2 separate regions of the Homo sapiens genome follow, and region 1 is linked to region 2. Evidence: promoter capture Hi-C in human tissues and cell types (Jung and others, 2019). All regions are on one chromosome and are shown on one strand. Each heading gives the region's core, a stretch centred on a gene start or on the middle of the fragment in contact. The rest is flanking DNA. Distances are from core to core; before and after follow the strand shown. Region 1 holds the start of ZNF513 (zinc finger protein 513). Region 2 holds the start of UCN (urocortin).

Region 1 (7,304 bases), core at 4,025-6,524, 72 kb before region 2:
TGTTTTTATCTGTGAGTGTCTCTTAGTGTGGTGGCTCACACTCTTAATTTGTATTCCATCCTTGTGCTCAGGATTGTATATAGGGAGTTCATTTTGTACTAGTCTTAGACTATTTTGCTTATATTCAGGCTTTAGAAGATGCCTTCTTGGCTATTGACGCCAAATTGACCACTGAAGAAGTCATTAAAGAGCTGGCACAGATTGCAGGGCGACCCACTGAGGATGAAGATGAAAAAGAAAAAGTAGCTGATGAAGATGATGGTGAGTGTGGCATCCCTTGTTTGAGGGGAAATCAGCATTTTAAGAAATATTCTTTAATATTACTTATCAATTCTAAGATAGGATGGCTTTCTAGGGACCTGGGGAGTCCTTATGTTAAAGAAACCTATGATGTTCTCCTGCATTGTATGTGGTTATGAAAAGGAGGGAGAGAATTATCTTCGTTGAGTGGCATCTGAGCTGTAAGCATTGTATATACATTATCTTTTGTCATTGTGATGGGGTCTTCCTGGTTCCTGCTAGTATTTATGTGCTTTTTTTTCCCCTCAAGACTGGAGCAGTTATTAGCCCCAATAGCCAATCATTAAGCCTAAATCCTAATTCACAGTAGCATTGTGGGCTTCCTGGATCCTCAGCCAGAATAGGGTTTTTACAACTTAACAATAAAAAATGAGACGTCAGAGGGGAAGTATAGTAACTAGTGTTGTTTTGATTAAGAAGGGGATGAAACACAAAAACCAAAAGAAGTCTGTGGAGGAGGAGGAGCTAGGGCATGTTCTTCTGAGACTTGAGCGAGAGGAACCTTGGGAGTGGGAGGTTGTGGGGAAGTTAGAGGCTGCAAGGGCTGTTGAGGTAGTGAGAGGGACGGATCCCATGAGGAGTCTGGCATGGGGGCTCTGATTTAGCCTCTTCCCTGCAGTGGACAATGAGGAGGCTGCACTGCTGCATGAAGAGGCTACCATGACTATTGAAGAGCTGCTGACACGCTACGGGCAGAACTGTCACAAGGGCCCTCCCCACAGCAAATCTGGAGGTGGGACAGGCGAGGAACCAGGGTCCCAGGGCCTCAATGGGGAGGCAGGACCTGAGGACTCAACTAGGGAAACTCCTTCACAAGAAAATGGCCCCACAGCCAAGGCCTACACAGGCTTTTCCTCCAACTCGGAACGTGGGACTGAGGCAGGCCAAGTTGGTGAGCCTGGCATTCCCACTGGTGAGGCTGGGCCTTCCTGCTCTTCAGCCTCTGACAAGCTGCCTCGAGTTGCTAAGTCCAAGTTCTTTGAGGACAGTGAGGATGAGTCAGATGAGGCGGAGGAAGAAGAGGAAGACAGTGAGGTAAGGGCCTGTGAGGGCAGGCAGATGCTGAAGTTGCAGAGAGGTCCTGTTTGGTTGCCGTCTGTAGTTTTCAACTCTCTTTCCTTCTCCTATTTTGACATCATCCCCCAAGACCCACTGTATTCTAAGCTTTAGTCTTGAATTCATTGAGCTCCATCATCACAGGTACCATTTGCCTTTTTACCTCTTCCTTTGTTGGTACTATAACAAGCAGATCTAGTTCTGGCTTTTCAGAGTCTGTCTCCTAGAGAGAGAACAAGGAGATAGTTGTTACCTTGGCTAGTTGACTGTTTTCTTCTCTGGAAAATTTATTTTCTGGCCACAGTGCCTGAAAGATATTTTTGGCTGGCAGCCCTTGCCTTGTCCTGGGCTTTTTGCTAGTGACTGCTAAGCCCAGTTCAGGATGTCAGTTGTACTCATGCTAGCCCTTTCCATCCCCCCAATTTTCATGACCATATACTTGTATCTTTCAGTGTTTTGAGGACCTGTGTTCAGTCAGGACCTCTTGATTCTGAGTATGAGCTGTGGGGAGGGAGGGGATCATCCCAGTCTCAGCAGTCTGGGATCCTCCCCCTGGCAGGAATGCAGCGAGGAAGAGGATGGCTACAGCAGTGAGGAGGCAGAGAATGAGGAAGATGAGGATGACACCGAGGAGGCTGAAGAGGACGATGAAGAAGAAGAAGAAGAGATGATGGTGCCAGGGATGGAAGGCAAAGAGGAGGTGTGTGGGGAAGGGGAGCAATGAGTCTTGAAAAGCCACAAGGCAGGTGTGAATCCCCTAATTTTGATTTTGAGACAGGGGATCCCCCTGATACTTTAGGATGGAAGTAATAGTCATGGGGATTTATTCTGCAAGGGGAATGAGATGGTAAGCCTTTGGGGTTGAATTATCTAAAAACAAGGGAGAGGGAGTGTGCTGCTGTCTCTAGAAAGATGAAATGTGTGCTTCTCCTGTTTGTTAAAGCTCTTTTGGGGGTCCCAGTGAAAGCAAGCATAGGTGAACGATCAGGAGCACATCAGTGAGGAACGCATGTTCAGAAGCCCCCATGATGCTCCTTTTCTTCCTCTTAAGCCTGGCTCTGACAGTGGTACAACAGCGGTGGTGGCCCTGATACGAGGGAAGCAGTTGATTGTAGCCAACGCAGGAGACTCTCGCTGTGTGGTATCTGAGGCTGGCAAAGCTTTAGACATGTCCTATGATCACAAACCAGAGGATGAAGTAGAACTAGCACGCATCAAGAATGCTGGTGGCAAGGTCACCATGGATGGGCGAGTCAACGGGGGCCTCAACCTCTCCAGAGCCATTGGTAAGGGCCAAGAAACTGGGAAAGACTTCTAGGGTCTTTCTCTCTGTCCCAGACTACCTAGTAGCAAACTTTAATCTTCCTAGTGCTTGTGCCTTTCAAAGCACTTTAATATCTACTACCTCTGTTCTTATATTTCTGTGAAATAACTAAGATGGGTAGAGGTATCATTATACATAGGTATCATTATACCCATCTTATGTAACATTTGAATGATGAAAAAGACCTGTGAGTGCCGGGCGTGGTGGCTCACGCCTGTAATCCCAGCACTTTGGGAGGCTGAGGCTGGTGGATCGCCTGAGGTCAGGAGTTCGAGGCCAGCCTGGCCAACATGGTGAAACCCCATCTCTACTAAAAAAAAAAAAAAATACAAAAATTAGCTGGGCATGGTAGTGCAAGCCTGTAATCCCAGCTACTCAGGAGGCTGAGGCAGGAGAACCGCTTGAATCCGGGAGGCGGAGGTTGTAGTGAGCCGAGATCGTGCCATTACACTCCAGCCTGGGCTACAAGAGTGAAACTCCGTCTCAAAAAAAAAAAAACAAAAAAGACTTAAAATAAAAAGACCAGTGAGTGACTTTCTTAAGGTTCAGCAGTCTGGTGGCAGGGTTGAAACTAGAAAAACTAGGACTTAGGACTCAGTTCCCCATTCCACTAGATTATGGAACTTTGTAAAGAAGGGAAATGAATGGCAAGGTTTGACCTGCCACAAACACAAGTCTGTGGGAAGTATCCAAACTGCTCATCAACCATTCCTTTACTCCAGGGGACCACTTCTATAAGAGAAACAAGAACCTGCCACCTGAGGAACAGATGATTTCAGCCCTTCCTGACATCAAGGTGCTGACTCTCACTGACGACCATGAATTCATGGTCATTGCCTGTGATGGCATCTGGTGAGCACTGGCAGAATGCCCTAAATTCCCCTTTCTGCAGCATGTCTTCTCTTATAGGACTCAGGGCACCTCTAGGATTAGAGCCTAGGCAGACCTAGGCCTCTTGGTGGGTGAAGAGCACCCAGACTAAGGCAGAGCTGAGAATTTCTGTAGTTATTTACACTGGCCTGGGCCACCACCTCTGTCCATACTCCTCTACGCTGCCTTAGTGAGACTGGAAGATTCTGACTGTTGTTCTTGACCCCAGGAATGTGATGAGCAGCCAGGAAGTTGTAGATTTCATTCAATCAAAGATCAGCCAGCGTGATGAAAATGGGGAGCTTCGGTTATTGTCATCCATTGTGGAAGAGGTGAGTACCAGGGTGGAGAAGAGAGGGTGTCTGGTCTGCACAGCCAGGGTTCACTCTTTTAATCTGAGCTAAGTCGGCAATCTGGGAGCATTATCAGTAATTGCTGACAGACGCTAAACCCCGACTCCAAAGTTCCACCTTCTGTCATTTCCCTGACTTAGCCTTATGCCTTATGGACTAGCAGGTGGGCCGTTGTGTGATACCTCTTGCCCATTCCTCTCCTACCACCCTGACTCAGCAAGCCAGCCCTCTTGTGGGACTGTAGATTCCTGGCAAGGTGTTCAAACCCTGTGGCTGAGCTACCCCCATCCCTTTCTTAGCTGCTGGATCAGTGCCTGGCACCAGACACTTCTGGGGATGGTACAGGGTGTGACAACATGACCTGCATCATCATTTGCTTCAAGCCCCGAAACACAGCAGAGCTCCAGCCAGAGAGTGGCAAGCGAAAACTAGAGGAGGTGCTCTCTACTGAGGGGGCTGAAGAAAATGGCAACAGCGACAAGAAGAAGAAGGCCAAGCGAGACTAGCAGTCATCCAGACCCCTGCCCACCTAGACTGTTTTCTGAGCCCTCCGGACCTGAGACTGAGTTTTGTCTTTTTCCTTTAGCCTTAGCAGTGGGTATGAGGTGTGCAGGGGGAGCTGGGTGGCTTCACTCCGCCCATTCCAAAGAGGGCTCTCCCTCCACACTGCAGCCGGGAGCCTCTGCTGTCCTTCCCAGCCGCCTCTGCTCCTCGGGCTCATCACCGGTTCTGTGCCTGTGCTCTGTTGTGTTGGAGGGAAGGACTGGCGGTTCTGGTTTTTACTCTGTGAACTTTATTTAAGGACATTCTTTTTTATTGGCGGCTCCATGGCCCTCGGCCGCTTGCACCCGCTCTCTGTTGTACACTTTCAATCAACACTTTTTCAGACTAAAGGCCAAAACCTAATCGTACGCATCGTGTCCTTTTTTTTCTGCTGCCGTGGCCCCCGACTTGGTCCCATCTGTAGCATGTGGCGAGCCCCCATGTGAGTGTGTGCGTGTGCTCGTGTGTGTCCTGCGCGTGTATAGGAGAGCCCAGAGCGAGCTGCTGGTAGGCCGGCCTGGCGGGCGTCGCGGCTGCCCCTCGCCCCCTCCTGCAGCCAGAAATGATCTAGTTCCCCCAGGGACAGGTTGGGACCGGTCTGGCTGGCCTGAAGCCTGGAGTCGGGCAGGACGCCTCCTGCGCTGCTCCCTGGCCGGCTCCCCGCTGCCGCTGATTGGCTTGCTCCCCGCCTCGTCACAATCACTTCCCGGTCACGCCATTGAGGCTCCCGCCGCGGCCGCTTCCCACGGACTACGCGTCCCGTGCGTCTCTGCGGCGGCGGAAGCGGAAGCGAGTACGGAGGTACCAGCTGGTCTCCGTAGGGGGGTAGGGGGCTCCATGAATGGAAGCGGCGGCGGCGGCGGGAGCGGCCTGAGCTGGGCGCCGGGGCCAGGGCCGGGGGCTGCCCAGGGCCCGCGCCGCTGCATGGGGGCGGCCCGCGGGCCCTGAGAGGAAGGGCAGACAGGCGGGCCGAGATAGGAGGGGCGGGGTCGGGCGGCCGCAGGCCGGAGGCGCGTCGGGCTGGAGCCGGTCACGATGCCCCGAAGGAAGCAAAGCCACCCGCAGCCCGTGAAATGCGAGGGGGTCAAAGGTCAGGGGTCAGGGGCCTTGAGGGGAGAGGAGCGGGGGTGGGGTCAGTGGAGTGGGCTCAGGTCAGGGTGGAGGGGGACTCCTGAGGGATGAAGTGGGCGATCCAGACTCCTAGCTTCCCACCGAGGCACTAAGGGAATCAGAGTGGGTCAGCGAGTACGGGAAGTGTGGTCCACGAGGGCTGGTTCCTGAGGGAGAATCCACAAGCCCCCTCCCCTCTTCAGTGGATACTGAAGACTCCCTCGACGAAGGACCCGGGGCCCTGGTATTGGAGAGTGATTTGCTACTAGGCCAGGATCTGGAGTTTGAGGAGGAAGAGGAAGAGGAGGAAGGCGACGGCAACAGTGACCAGCTCATGGGCTTCGAGAGAGACTCGGAAGGTGGGTTTTCGGGTCTTGGTTAAGGATTAGCGGCCGCTGGAGACCCCAGCCCTTCAGGAGGCAGGTTAGGTGAACAGAACACCATTTCCTGCCACAACCGAGGGCTGGTTTAGTTTACATTTGAGCTAGATGACTTCATTTGTTTAATGGTCCAATCACTTCCATCACTTTGTTGAGGTGAAGTTCTGAGGCCTGGTCAAAGGTGATAGGAATAGGAGGGTGGGTGAATCACATGGAGCAACTGATTAAAAGTAAATGCCCTGTCTCTCTCCCTAGCCCATTCCTTATGTGTATTTACTTTTAAGAGAGGTTCAGGGAAGCAAACTCTCTGTAAATCATTCAACCCAGTATTTAGGTCTAATCTAACTCCCTTTCACCTGCAGCGTAAGCTCCTTTTGTATTGAGAGGTTTTAGTTTCTGTCTTTATCCTTCCATGTCCCTCTTCCCTGTGATCTTAGCATCACCCTACCCTAATTTGCTGCACTACCCATCCACTTATGCAAGATGTTTTTTGAAAGTCATTGAGGGGATCCATGTAAATATCTGTTCTTTAGGCAGGCAAGTGGTATTACATGCATTACTTTCATTGTCTCCACTTCCCTCCAAATTTTGCCTCAGAGATAGGTTTTATTTTATATCAGCTCCTTACTAAAAGGGGCCTTAGCAATAGAGCTTAGAAAAAGGTCTTGGGGGCTCTCTCCCTTTCGTATTTTTACTTTCTTGTCTCAAGAATTAATTTCATTATGGATTCATTTCAGTCTGTGATCCACTGTGAGCCCTTGATCCTTGACCATTGAGGGAAACTAGATACAGGTCAATTCTACCATCACTAGATTAGTCCAGTGTAAGAGGTAGACAATTCATGTTGAATTTTCTGGAATTACTGCAGGGGAGACCTTGATTCCTAGGAGGGAACTAAAGGGATCATCAAAGCTAAGGGTGGAGCCAAGCAAGTGGGGAGACCATAAGTGAAAAGGGGAGAGTTTGGAGCCTGATCCTACCCTATGCTGATGTCTCTTCTTATGTCTATTTCACCAGGAGACTCTCTGGGGGCCAGGCCTGGGCTTCCCTATGGGCTGAGCGACGATGAGTCTGGGGGCGGCCGGGCACTAAGTGCGGAGAGTGAAGTTGAGGAGCCAGCCAGGGGTCCAGGGGAGGCCAGGGGTGAGAGGCCAGGCCCAGCCTGCCAGCTGTGTGGGGGGCCGACAGGTGAGGGGCCGTGTTGTGGGGCAGGAGGGCCGGGTGGGGGGCCCCTGCTGCCCCCACGGCTACTGTACTCATGCCGCCTCTGCACCTTCGTGTCCCACTACTCGAGCCACCTGAAGCGGCACATGCAGACACACAGCGGAGAGAAGCCGTTCCGCTGTGGCCGCTGCCCCTACGCCTCAG
Region 2 (7,568 bases), core at 1,863-4,362:
GGCCAAGTAGGAGCCTGGTCAGACACTCACAATAAAGACAGTTGCTGAACTGCACCCAAAAAGATAGTGGCACTGAAGATGTGTGGTTCAAATGCTTGAAGGTGAAGGATCGTGGGAACAGGGGAAAATATGGAACGCTTCAGAGGGAACAGGGCCAAAATGTACATGAGTAGCATAGCTAAAACGAATACAGACTGGCTGGGCACGGTGGCTCACACCTGTAATTCTAGCACTTTGGGAGGCTGAGGCAAGAGGTTTGCTTGAGTCCAGGAGTTTCACACCAGCCTGGGCAATATAGTGAGACCTCATCTCTACAGAAAATACAAAAAATTAGCCAGTCACATGGTAACATGTGCCCGTAGTCCCAGCTACTCGGGAGGCTGAGGTGGGAGGATCACTTGAGCCTGTGAGATGGAGGTTGCTGTGAACTGAGATTGTGCCACTGCATTTCAGCCTGGTGACAGAGTGAGACGACCCTGTCTCCAAAAAAAAAAAAAAAAAAAAAAAAAAAAAAGGCTGGACACAGTGGCTCACGCCTGTAATCCCAACACTTTGGGAGGCTGAGGCAGGTGGATCACAAGGTCAGGAATTCGAGACCAGCCTGGCCAATATGTTGAAACCCTGTCTCTACTAAAAATACAAAAATTAGCTGGGTGTGGTGGCAGGTGCCTGTAGTCCCAGCTACTCGGGAGGCTGAGGGAGGAGAATCGCTTGAACCTGGGAGGCGGAGGTTGCAGTGAGCCAAGATCTTGCCACCGCACTCCAGCCTGGGCAACAGAGCGAGACTCCGTCTCAAAAAAAACCCGAAAAAACAAAAAAGGAATACAGACTTATGAACCAAATCCTAAACATTAGGGTCCTTTGCAACACTCTTTGAAACCAGAGCAAGGTTAATTTAAAACAGAAAGATGCTACTTTATATGATAGTCCGTACATTTCGGAAGATGAAATCTCAGCTGGTACAAGACAGATCAATGAACTTAGAAGGGGCCCAGATAGGGGCCCTTTCTGTGATTAACAGAGCTATGCATGGCAAGAGAGCCGCTGAATATTTAGCCTTTGAGGCTCTCAGCCAGGAAACAGAGCTCTGGGATGGCACTAGAATTTGAGCCAGTTGTCCTTTAGTGCAAGCCACACAGGCCCTTCATAGGGTGCTGAAAGGGCTGGGTGTCGTGGCTCACACCTGTAATCCCAGCACTTTGGGAGGCCGAGGTGGGTGGCTCACTTGAGGTCAGGAGTTCGAGACCAGCCTGGCCAACATGGTGAAACCCTGTCTCTCCTAAAAATACAAAAATTAGCCAGGTGTGGTGGAGCACACCTGTAGTCCCAGCTACTTGGGAGGCTGAGGCACGAGAATTGATTGAACCCGGGAGGCAGTGAGCCAAGATTGTGCTACTGCACTCCAGCCTGGGCAACAGAGGAGACTCCATCTCAAAAAAAAGGTGCTGAAGGAAAGAGACCTAAACCTGCCAATCCTTTGTCATGATCCCTCCTTTGCCATTTCATGCTCCCATCTCCAGCCCTTGCTCACTGCTTAGCCTTCCTCCTCTTCATTGTGTTATTCCTGTTCCTTAGGTTGGCCGTTGTCCAATGTGTTGCTGTTATCTGGAACTCCTACCTGTCCTGGAAGGCACATCGGCTCTAAGCCTGCCTCACTCCATCGTTTCCACCTTGCAGTGATGCAGCTTGACCCTGGAACGGTCAGACAACCTCCTCAAAGTGGGCATACCAGTTTCCACGGGGTTGGGTTGCCGGTCAGAGCTTAAGAGGACTAGCACCCTGCAATGCCCCTCTTCACTCTAAAATGTACACTGACTGCTTTAGAGCCCTTGATAATAGTCTTATTCCCACCACATACTAGGCACTCCATAAATATCTGTTGAACCTTCATGACCTTATCAACTTTACACCCATATCCCAGCAAATGCCACTCATCCCCACTCTTCATAGACACATTTGTTACTCTAACCCTGCCTAGGCTTCTTGTAGCTCCAGCTCTTTAGAGACTCCCGGAACCCTTTATATGGTGCCTCAGTAAATATGTTATTAAATATGTAATCCGGAATCTGCAGTGGTAATGAGTAAGTTTTTAAGCAGAAAACTATTGGGGAGTCATTTCTAGAGCTGGAAAGAAGCCAAGAGACCACCAAGCCCAATTTTTTTTTTTTTTTTTTTTTTTTTTTTTGAGACAGGGTCTTGCTCTGTCTCCCAGGCTGGAGTGCAGTGGCGCGATCTTGCCTCACTGCAGCTTCCGCCTCCTGGGTTCAAGCAGTTCTCCTGCCTCAGCCTCCTGAGTAGCTGGGACCACAGGCGCATACCGCCACGCCCGGCTAATTTTTGTATTTTTAGTAGAGATGGGGTTTCGCCATATTGGCCAGGCTGGTTTCAAACTACTGACCTCGTGATCCGCCTGCCTCGGCCTCCCAAAGTGTTGGGATTACAGGCGTGAGCCACCGCGCCTGGCCAAGCCCAGTCTTACAAATGAGGACCCTGAGGTTGGTAGGAGGGAGGTGACCTGTCCACACCAGGAGTTAGCAGAAACTTGAACCCATATTTCTTTGCTGCTCATGGGCAGAGTTACACTGCTGCTATGATTCCCAGGAGAGAAACTGAACTTTGCTAAACTACTTTGGCAAACTCAAAAGCAGATGGGCCAGCCATTTGTGGTCTGAAAGCACTCGGATGCTAGAGACCCTCTGTTACATGGTGCCTGTCAGACAGCCCTACAATTTGGATCCTGGGGCTGGAAAAAGATAAGAATGCTGGGAGACTTTGGTTGTGGCAGACTGCCTCTCAGTGGGTCCCACTGTGTTGGCTGAGTGCCAGCGGTGGACTCCTGATGCCTGCATTTGCAGAACTGATAGCTGCAGGGAGGCAGTGGGTTCCAGCGGCACAGCGTTCTCACATTTCTGGCCACTTCTAGAGGCAGAGGACGGGGTCAGCACCATGGACAGCCTCACGGTCCCGCCTCCCTTTCGTGTGTCAGAACACGCGACCCGGACTAGTCTGGTCTGGGGACGGCCCTAGTCATTGCTGGCTGTTCTAAGCGGGGCGAGGGACTCCCGTGGGTCCCAGAGCAGTCTTTACGCCCCAGCCGGCTTCTCGCTTTCCTGCGTCCAGTGCTGCTTCCAGCGCTAGCCCCAGGGGCACGAAGGCTGGTGTAGGGAGGTGCGCCCCTCCGGGGGCCCGCCAGCCGTCAGACTCGAAGCTGTGGCTGTCATTGCTTCTACAATCAGTGCATGTTCTTCGCTGACGTCAGTCGGAGCTGTCCTGGCACTATATAAGGCTGGCGACAGCCCCGGGACAGACCCTGTGTTCCCCAAGGCGTCTTCAGCCTGCCCCGAGGGACAGAGACTGGAGCTCAATCTTGGACCGTACAGACGCTCGCCGACAACCTGTGAGTGGCTCAGAGCGTCCGCCCAGCCTCCCCCTGCACCAGGACTCCGCTCAGCTCAGCCACCACGCTCCTCCGGGGAGGGAGGCTGGGTGGAAGGGATGGAACAGCACTGGCGCAGTGGCTGGGGCTGGAGGGCAGGCTGCGGGCATTGGGCGGCGGCCGGAGGGGTCGCCGGGCGAGCGCGGGGAGGGGAGCGGCGGCCTGCAGCTGTCCCAGGCGCACCTCACCCTGCGCTGCCCCTGTGTGTCCAGGGCCGGCGGCACCATGAGGCAGGCGGGACGCGCAGCGCTGCTGGCCGCGCTGCTGCTCCTGGTACAGCTGTGCCCTGGGAGCAGCCAGAGGAGCCCCGAGGCGGCCGGGGTCCAGGACCCGAGTCTGCGCTGGAGCCCCGGGGCACGGAACCAGGGTGGCGGGGCCCGCGCGCTCCTCTTGCTGCTGGCGGAGCGCTTCCCGCGCCGCGCGGGGCCCGGCCGATTGGGACTCGGGACGGCAGGCGAGCGGCCGCGGCGGGACAACCCTTCTCTGTCCATTGACCTCACCTTTCACCTGCTGCGGACCCTGCTGGAGCTGGCGCGGACGCAGAGCCAGCGGGAGCGCGCCGAGCAGAACCGCATCATATTCGACTCGGTGGGCAAGTGATGGCCCGGTTTGGGGCTGCGAAAACGTTGACCCCTTTCCCCCACCCCAGAGTTGGGATGCGGGGCAGAGCCACCAGGGCACTGTCTGCGTGACTATTTTTTAATAAAAGTACTGAAGACCCGTTGGCTTTTGTCGTAGAGGCAGGGCAGTCACAGCAGCGTGGGAACCCGTGGGAAGGTGGGGCCCCCGGGCCAGCGGGAGGGGAACAAAATGCTGTGGGGGGCTCCGAGACAGCGGCTTTCAGCCAGGTCAGCCAGGTGCATGTGGACCCCAAGGGTCCCCAAATCCCCAGGACCTCAGAGGTCCCGGCACCACCGCCCCGCCCTCGGCCCTCTTCCCAGGGCGCTGGGCTCACCAGTTCGCTCCTGGCATCACAGAGGTGCCCAATAGGGGTTCATTTGGCTTCCGCCCCCCAGACGGTCTCAGGTTCTGGGAAGGGCAGGATGGTGGGCGGGTCGCCTTCGAAGCCCAGGCTGCGGGGTTGGGCAGCGAAAGGAGATACGGGTCTGGGACGCTCGAGTTCTTTATTGAGATCCTCCCGGGGCCGGCGCCGATTTGGGTGATGCTGCGGTCTCTGCGCAGATCCTCCCCGACTCTAGCGCGGGCTCTCGAGCAGGGTCGGGTCGGCGCAGGCCTGTGCCCGGGAAAGAAGGCTCGGTGGGCGGGTGCTGCGAAGGCACGAGGCAGCTCGAGCCCCGCTCACTCCGTCCCCCGCCACGTGGGTTTCTCCTCTACTCAGCCTGCCTTGCCTGCCCTCCCAGCACCCCAGAGGAACAGCGGGTGAGGAGGAAAGTGTACTTTTCCGCCCTAGGGGGCGCGCCTTTGTGGCTCCGGGGTTGGGTTGCACCGAGGAGTGGGGGCTCCACGCTACCCGCAGGGAGGGCAATCACTGGGGGAGGGGACGCGAGCACACCAGCCAGGCCCCACCCCAAGCCCCTCAGGCCGCTCTCACCTTAAGGCCCATCGGGCGGCTCTCACCTTAAGGCCCATCCGGCCGCTCTTCCTCCGGCCCCGCGCTGCCCTCCTCTCCGTCTGGGGCCACCTCCTCTTCCTCCCCGGAAGCGCCTGAGCCCAAGGAAGGCCTGGTGAGGTGGAGTCCCTGCCTTTACGGCCATCGTGCCCGCCGCACCCCCCACACAGAGGGTCCGAACCCGTCTCAGCGGCCCTCGGCCACCTCCTTCACCTGGCTGGAAGTCGATGGTCCGCAGCATTTCGGCCACGTGCTCCACCCTTACGGTGAATTGCTCCATGCTCTCATAGCCTGGCTCCGGCCGCCCTGCCAGCTCCACCTTCGACATGGCCCCGACCCTGCAGTGGCCACACGGACTCAGCTGGCAATGCCCCAGCACTCTCAAGCCCCACCCCAGCCAGTGGAGCAGTGCAGCCCCCTCCTTTCCCTTCCCGCTATGCCTACTCACTTATTGATCAGCTCCTTGGCCTGCTGCAGGGAAGAAAAGGAGGGTGAGAGTAAGCACTGGGCCAACCTGGGCAAAGTCCCATTTCTGAATCTCACCACAGTCCTGCGGGGTAGGTGGGAAGGCACGTCCCAATTCGTTAAGCAGAAAACGAACTCAGAGGGGGTGACTTGCCCAAGGTCGTAGGGGCAAGCAGGTGCAAGAGACAAGACTTGAACCCGGGACTCCAGGTACCAAGGCCCTGACTCCAGCCACTGTGCAGCGCTGCCACCCTCCCCTAGAGCCCACCTGGAGATACAGCGCCATTTGTGGCTCTTCCATGGACTGGATGGCAGACTCCACCAGCTTAGAGGAGGCCTCCAGGTGGTCGCCATACTGACGGATGAGGCCGCGGACGCGCTGCAGCTTCTCCTCTTGCTCCCGGGCCAGCGCCTGCAGCAGCTCACCCTTGCGCTCCTCCAGCACTGCGCACAGGCTCTCAAACCTCTGGTTTAACAACTGCTTCTGCCTCCGGCTATTGTCCTAAAAGATGGGGAGCAAGGATGAGGGAAGGCGTGGCTGAGACCCGGTGGCTGGGAAAGCACAGGGTACTCACAGAGAACCAACACAGAAAGTGACCCATCCGTAGTGACACTGTGAGTTAGTGGCTGAGCCAGAACCCAGCCCAGATCTTTTCCATAATAAAAACACAATGCTTTAAAGTAGCTTCACTGATTGCTGTCTATATCCCTAGCCCTGGTTTTTATTTGCATTATTCCATTTAATTCTCAAAAAGAACCCATGAGGTAGCTGGTGTATCATTATCATCATCACTGTTTTATGAGGTTAAACAAAACCAAAGCACAGAGAAGTTAAATAACTGGATTAAAGTTTTGCGGCAAAGCTGGAATGCACACCCAGCAGCCTGGCAAAAGCACCTCCCACCACTCCCAGGACCCCAGAAACTTTCAGACCAGTTTGGCGAGAGGTCAGAGAGGAGCAGTTCTCTTGGGAGCCCGGGGTCCGCAGGCTAGCCAGTTGCTGTTCCTCCCTCCCTCCAGCCCAGGCTCACCTCGATAGTCTGGCACACCTCCTCCATCTGTGTGATCACTGCTTGCACGCGGTCATTGCCTGCCACCAGCATCGCGATGCCATCGCTGAGCTCACTCTGATACACACACAGGTCAGCACTCAGAGCTGGGACCTGGCCTAGAGCTACACCCCTCACCCCAGCCAGGGTTGCCTAGGAGAGGGCTGGCCCTTCCACCTCACCCCCCATAAGGGCATCTACAGCAATCTAGAAGGCTTGAACCATCAAGAGGTACGGAAGCACATTCTAGTGATTCTGGAAGGAGGTGGAGAGAAGCCCTCCACCACTAAGTGGGGAAGGAACAGACAGTCTCCAAACATCCACCAGATACCAGACACTGGGCTAGATACTTTATCTGTAGATTCATTTCTTGCATCGATTCTGAGAAAGTCTTCAAGATTATCCATTGGCATAATATTGCCTCTTCTCTATTCTCTTTATCCTCTCATTCTGGGAATCTGATTAGACCTGTTAGACCTTCTCACTCTCAGCCTTCTCATCATCTCCCAGAACTGCACGTTCTGTTTTTCTTTCAGTCCTCTCATACTGGTCACTAGTTCTGTTTTCAGACAAATCTATCATTCAATTCATTCGTTGATTTTTTTTTAAATTTTTTTTGAGACGGAGTCTTGCTCTGTCACCCAGGCTGGTCTCGAACACCAGGCCTTGTCCTCCTGCCTCAGCCTCCCTAGTCACTGGGTTTACAGGTTCCAGCCACCATGCCCAGCCATCTGTTGAATGTTTTATATCTATCTATCTATATATATATATATATCTGTATATCTATATCTATCTATCTATCTATCTATCTATATATATATATTTGAGACAAGGTCTCACTCTGTCACCAAGGCTGGAGTGCAGTGGCTCGATCTCAGTTCACTGCAGCCTCGACCTTCCAGGCTCAGGTGATCCTCCCACCTCAGCCTCCCAGGTAGCTGGGACTACAGGCGCATGACACCACGTCCGGCTAATTTTTTATATTTTTTTGTAGACGGGGTTTCAACATTTCCCCAGGTTGGTCTCCAACTCCTGGACTCAAGTGATC

Evidence for each region. Contacts are between HindIII fragments. The study calls those that stand out against the background at their distance.
Region 1: a contact is called between the fragment with the promoter of ZNF513 here and the fragment with the promoter of UCN in region 2, in 1 of the 25 tissues and cell types used here (adrenal gland).

What each region holds. Positions count from the first base shown.
Region 1 is chr2:27,378,704-27,386,007 of GRCh38, reverse strand. ZNF513 (zinc finger protein 513) reads left to right here and starts at 5,274. Exons shown (of 4, transcript NM_144631.6): 1 at 5,274-5,536; 2 at 5,760-5,915; 3 at 6,954-7,304. The coding sequence starts at 5,482. It overlaps PPM1G (protein phosphatase, Mg2+/Mn2+ dependent 1G), which reads left to right. Exons shown (of 10, transcript NM_177983.3): 4 at 129-261; 5 at 920-1,335; 6 at 1,916-2,056; 7 at 2,408-2,642; 8 at 3,403-3,532; 9 at 3,780-3,882; 10 at 4,203-4,809. The coding sequence ends at 4,409. RefSeq lists a silencer at 5,302-5,521 and an enhancer at 6,662-7,304. The HindIII fragment of the contact is 10,400 bases long and covers 1,991-7,304 here.
Region 2 is chr2:27,303,989-27,311,556 of GRCh38, reverse strand. UCN (urocortin) reads left to right here and starts at 3,112. Exons shown (of 2, transcript NM_003353.4): 1 at 3,112-3,397; 2 at 3,649-4,157. The coding sequence starts at 3,662. The coding sequence ends at 4,036. TRIM54 (tripartite motif containing 54) reads right to left here. Exons shown (of 9, transcript NM_187841.3): 4 at 6,503-6,598; 5 at 5,740-5,973; 6 at 5,455-5,477; 7 at 5,220-5,344; 8 at 5,015-5,101; 9 at 4,122-4,670. The coding sequence ends at 5,016. It overlaps MPV17 (mitochondrial inner membrane protein MPV17), which reads left to right. Exons shown (of 8, transcript NM_002437.5): 8 at 1,576-2,065. The coding sequence ends at 1,645. The HindIII fragment of the contact is 27,300 bases long and covers 1-7,568 here.